Regions from separate parts of the Homo sapiens genome. Here region 2 is linked to region 1. The links are contacts of gene promoters, found by promoter capture Hi-C in blood cells and fetal thymus (Javierre and others, 2016). All regions are on one chromosome and are shown on one strand. The core of a region is centred on a gene start or on the middle of the fragment in contact, and the rest is flanking DNA. Distances in the headings are between cores, read along the strand shown.

Region 1 (2,700 bases), core at 112-2,611:
TTAGTTCGGTTTTGAATAAGAAAGGATCCTCCTTCGAAATTTAGATCTATAAAAGTTACTTAAATTGGGTCTTTTCTCCCCCTATGTTGAGATACCAGAGAGCAGGAGAACTTAAATTTATTTTACAAATAGGTAAGGTTACAGGCTTCAGAAGAGAGAGGTACTCCAAACAAATCTGCAAGATATTCGCAAGGATCACAGAAAAAGTCAGGGATAGTGGTTTATTATCCTCCGACCAACTAGCTCTGGAGAGGGATGGATACAAACGTCCCAGAAAGAGGACACTGAAAGTAAGTCTTATCTTCTAGAAAAGTAAGTCGTCCGGGCAAACACGCTGCACCCTCGACATTTCCTTGCAGAGGGGGAGAAAAGCCTCATAGAGCAGCAGGCGACATGACATGCCCGTCTGAGGCTCCACGTGGGGGCTGCACTGAGCCCAACAAGCTTCCCAGACCATGGGGCAATCAAATTCCCCGACTGTGCACAGAACCTGCGCTCCCGGCCCGGGCAGCGGCGCGCAGGCCGCAGTGGCCCTGGAGCGCCACCCAGCGGCCCACGGAGAGGCCTGTAGGCGGGTCCTCCACGGCTCCCGACTCGCCGCACCCCCACAGCCACCCAGCCCGTTCCCCTCTCCGGATGCACAAGGCCCAACCCAAGAACTAAGACACAAAATGGCTGCCGGCAGCTTCGTCACGTGACCCCTTTGTGCCTTTCGGGCCCCCGAACTCCGCGGGACCCGGGTACAAGTGGCCAGGGTCAGCGGGTGGCCTTAGAAGGGGCCCCGCTGGGCCGCGGCGGCCGGGGGTCGAGGCTGGGGGAGGCGGGGTATAGGCCCGGCCGGCGACTGAGAGTCGGCGGCGAAGAGAAGATGGCGGCCATTTTGTGTGGGTTTGCTGCTCCGCCGCCGCCGCAGGCAGCAGAGGGAGCGGGCCTGACGGTGGGTCGGACAGGGGAGTTAACACGTACCGACTCCTCTTCCTTCTCCATTCCGGTGGGCATCTGCGGCACGGCCCTGTTTATCGAGGCGTATTCGTGCAGGTCGGGCAGATCCTCACAGCGGAAAACCGGCAGCGGCTTCGAGGCGTCTAGCGCCCGCGCCCGAAACGACAGTTTACTCATCTCAGGCGCAGCAGATACCTCTCCGCTCTGGGGAAACGGCCCCGGCCAGCGGGATCATGGAGAACCGGGGGTTCGGTCCCCACTCGCCAACCGCTGCCGGGGACTTGAGGGGCGGAGCGCAGAGCCCGCCGTCCGGGCACTAACACCAGCCGGGAGGGTGGGAGGCTGTGCCGCTCCGCTCCTCTCTCGCTCGCTCTCTTCAATACGCCATGGCCAACATGGCGGACATTAAAACTCCACTGTGCGCTCTTCAGCCAACCCCAGCCATTCCCCACACTGCATCGCGCAGCGGCGCGGGCACGCGGGCGGGGGGAGGGAGCGCGGGCTCGAGGCCGGCGCCGGCACGAAGCGCGCGTCCCGCCAACCCCCGGCACCCGCCGGCCTCGCTTCCCGCGCCTCGCTGCTCCGGGCCCCCGCCCTTCGCGGGTCCGGGGGCGGACAGGGCGGACTGGGCGCTCGGACACCGGGCGCCGGCTCTTGGGTCGTGCTCTCCTGCAGCGCACACGCTCACTTTCTCACGCTCGCTCCCTCCCGGCGCCGCTTTCTGACGGGCGAACAAGGTGCGGGAAAACTCTCTCCACCAGCACGCCGCCGTTTGGAAAGGCAGCTGGGGAGAGTGGCAGGCGGGGCTCGGGCCCCGGGCACCTGGGGCTCGGAGGGCTCGGACCTCTGGGGTGCTCGCCAGCGGCTGCCCCGGGGCCACGGCCGCCCCCACGGGGCTTCGGAGGGGCGCTCCAGAGGCGCCGCGCGCCGCCGTCTGCCGCGGGGGGCGAACGCACAGCCTAGTTCCCGCGGCGCCTTAGGTCTTTACGATAAAAATACAAACTGAATTAGGGGCAGATGCTACTTTGAGTAAACTTTTATCAGCAGTTATTTTTATGTCCTAATGCAACTTTGGATTATAATGTTTTATAGGCACCGCATCAAGTCATTGATCCGTTTCCCACGCATTGGGCTTAATATAAATGATAGGTATCCTATTCTACAAAGTAGATTTTTTTAAATCCTGCATTTTCATCTACACATATTTACTTTTTAAATAGTAACTGAAGCAAAGGAAATTATTACCCACCACTATAACATTTAAAAGCAAGATCTACTTCAGAATTTAAAGCCAGTTCTTTATATCTAGCTCATGATTCTGTACTCAAAGAGACTGCGGCTTCATCATAGCCGTGGGTTCACACTTTCATCATTTGTCCTCTGAAAAACTTTGTAACATTGAATCATATAAAGACCTGTCGTACTCCCGCCAAACAAAAAGCTGAATTATTAGATTTAGATGGATATGATAGATGGGTGGCATCGGTTTATATTACACATGAAAATGGGTATCCTGAGATCTCTTCGTTGTTGTTGTTGTTAATAGGGAAGATTGTTGGGGTGGGTTTAATAAATTGGCAGCCAAATTTCAATTCGAGTTTCAATTTGTATCTTAGTGCACAATTTTGTATCTTGTGCAACAAGATACAAAAAGATACAAAAATGTTTTGAGTTGCTTTTCTCCCTGGGAACTACGTAGTAAAAGTAATCACGCTCCTTAAATACTGGGCTTGATATGAGCTGTCACTAGCTTAGGGC
Region 2 (2,700 bases), core at 91-2,590, 1.3 Mb before region 1:
ATAAACCATCGGCTCTCATTTTAGATAAGAAAAACAAAGTTCCAAGTTTGCGTGACTTGTCCTTGGACACGAAGCTAGTTAACGAATAGAACAAAAATTAGAAGCCCTGCTTTCTGATTCAAAGGCTCTTCCTACCTGGATGAAAAGATATCACACTCCTGAAATGAATTTACAGAAATGTGAACTCTCGAGCTCCTGTATAAATACACCCTGAAGTGTGCACAGTATTCTTCCCTTCAAAGTTCCTGAAGACTACTAGTCCCGGAGTTTGAGAGGCATTATAGTCTAGTAATAACTAATCGATAATGTAGTACCCCTTGACCAAAATATTCAAGCAGTCAGATACGATGATTGGATATTCCAAATCGATACAGCAATCCTTAAAACTCAGTGAGTCTGTGTTGTCTATAATGTGCTAGTTCCAGCACACTGAAAGCTTCCTCTGCAAAACCCAGACAACGGGGGCATTGTAATTGCCAAGAGTACCGTGCTAACGATACCTGTTATTTCTTGGGATCCCCATTCTATCAAGTTTAGTGACAACAGTTCGATCACCCAACAGGCTCCAGTGTGGTATAGAATCAGATGGAGGGAAGGTTGTCGGGGGGAGGCAAAACAGTGAAAAAGTTCCCCTTCTACAAGATTCCTGGTCAAATAGCCAGTGGCTACCACATTCCTCAGAATAACCAAGTGTCTGTGTATAAGCTTTCTCCTAGCAAATTTACACACTTGTGTTATCTCACGTGTTCCTAGTGCTGTGGGAACAACCATTAGGGAGGCCAGAGGCTGCTGTACCTCCCTTTTACACAAAAAAGAAAACTGAGGCAGCAACTGGTTATCTTATAAATGTGTCCACGATGACTTGGTCACTTGTGGGATCCCAACGGCCAGGACATAGGATTCCTATTCTCTGAGAGGAAGCTTCCATCCCCTACTTAACATGTCAAACTCCAAGGCTGAGAGGGGGAAGAAAAGGAATCTAAGTCCCTTTATCACGGAAGAAAAAAAGGGACTCTCCATTTGGACTTTCCGCCCCTTCTAAGGCCTCGCTCCCAGGCTCGGAGACGCGCCCCGCCCCAGGGGAAAAGGTGCTGGCCCGGCCCCACGGGGCGCGGCCTCGCCTCCCGCACCCCAGGTCCCTACCGCCCAGCAGGGCGCGCTGCCACTCTGAGCAGACACCTGTCCCTTCGCCACAATCGGCGACTCCCCAAGGAACTGACGCCCCCAGAGCCACCACCACCGCCGGGACTGCCAGCTGCCAGCGGGCCCCGCAAGCCCTAGGAGCTGCAGGAATCCTCGTAAACTTACAGTTTTCCTACAGCGTGCGCGTCACAGCGGGGTGACGTCACGGGCCCAGCAGTCGGGGAGGTCAAGCCACGGGGCGCGGGCCGCTGGGCCCCCAGGCTCCGCCCTCGCCCCGCCCCGGCGCCGCGGCGGGAGACACGCCCCCGAGCTCCACGCCCTCGAGCTCCACGCACCTCCCCGTAGCAGACACCCCGCGCAGGCGCAGACGGCCTCTGCGCCCGCATGCCTGTGGGCTTCGCCGACCGGGGCGCCTGCGGCGGCGACTGCTCTACCAAAGCCTCACTCAAAGCCTGAAGTCGGGGTTAGAGGAGGAGGAGGGGCCGACAAAAGGGGACGGAGACCTTCAGAAATACTGTAAACAAGCTGTCGCCCTGGGGGCTGGAGTAAGACGCCTGGGTTGTGAGGTAGTTTTTCCACAGACATTGCCCGCCTTCCTCACGTGTTCGTTAAAAGTTCTCCACGTGTGGAAACAGCCATTTGCTCTCCATCAGGTGCTGGCGGGTCCTCAGCCCTGAAAAGACAGCTCTCCCAGGGTCCCTCGCTCCTCCCCGGCTCGACGCGGCTCCCGCTAGACTCCGCCCAGACCCCGAGCAGTCCCCGCCCATCTCTTGACTATGCCCCTCCCACGCCCACTTAGGCCTTGCCCCTGGGTCCCGCCCTTCCGGCTCCCGCCCCTGGCTCCCGGCTCCCGCGGGCCCCCACCTGCCCTTCTTGCCCTGGCGCCGCCTCCAGCCCAGCCCGTTTCTTGCAGATTTTAGCTTCTCCCTTGCCTGCCGCCTTTCCCGTTTCGGCTCGGTGAAGCTACCTATGGGTTGCTGTTCATTTAACAAACGGTGATCCGGATAAACATGTTCACTTCTTCGCCTGGGCAAACTTTCCAGCCCCCGACCCACTCATGTCACGATACCTTCCCGTGTCCAAGTCCGGCTCTCTGCTCCCCACTTTTTTTTTTTTTTTTTTTTGAGACAGAGTGTTTCTCTGTCTCCCAGGCTGGAGTGCAGTGGCGCGATCTCAACTCACAGTACCCCCTGCCTCCCGGGTTCAAACGATTTTCTTGCCTCAGCCTCCTGAGTAGCTGGGATTACAGGCGCGCGCCACCACAGCCGGCTAATTTTTATGTTTTAGTAGAGACAGGGTTTCACCATGTTGGCCAGGATGGTCTCCATCTCTTGACCTCGTGATCCGCCCGCCTCGGCCTCTCAAGGTGCTGGGATTACAGGTGTGAGCCGCCGCGCCCGGCCTCTTTGCTCTTTTATACTCTCAGAAGCAATGAGTTCTGGTTAAAAAAAAGGGCTCGATAGACGGAAAAAATGAAGGCTTAAAGAACTGACAACAAAATATTAACATTTGGCTTGTGGAATTCTTACACTCTCGTAAGCAGAAAAAACAAATGTT

Evidence for each region. The method cuts DNA at HindIII sites, captures the fragments that hold promoters and counts their contacts. A CHiCAGO score of 5 or more calls a contact.
Region 2: a contact is called between the fragment with the promoter of ZNF438 here and the fragment with the promoter of EPC1 in region 1, in 1 of 17 cell types (neutrophils). The highest score is 6.7, in neutrophils.

What each region holds. Positions count from the first base shown.
Region 1 is chr10:32,345,797-32,348,496 of GRCh38, forward strand. EPC1 (enhancer of polycomb 1) reads right to left here and starts at 1,362. Exons shown (of 14, transcript NM_001272004.3): 1 at 967-1,362. The coding sequence starts at 1,119. It overlaps EPC1-AS1 (EPC1 antisense RNA 1), which reads left to right and starts at 1,568. Exons shown (of 2, transcript NR_104163.1): 1 at 1,568-1,679. RefSeq lists silencers at 393-672, 1,343-1,812, 1,823-1,952 and enhancers at 893-992, 1,013-1,072. The HindIII fragment of the contact is 3,163 bases long and covers 443-2,700 here.
Region 2 is chr10:31,030,525-31,033,224 of GRCh38, forward strand. It overlaps ZNF438 (zinc finger protein 438), which reads right to left and starts at 1,341. Exons shown (of 7, transcript NM_001143768.2): 1 at 1,309-1,341. It overlaps LOC105376481 (a long non-coding RNA gene), which reads left to right and starts at 1,984. Exons shown (of 3, transcript XR_001747410.3): 1 at 1,984-2,700. RefSeq lists a silencer at 1,003-1,562. The HindIII fragment of the contact is 8,810 bases long and covers 920-2,700 here.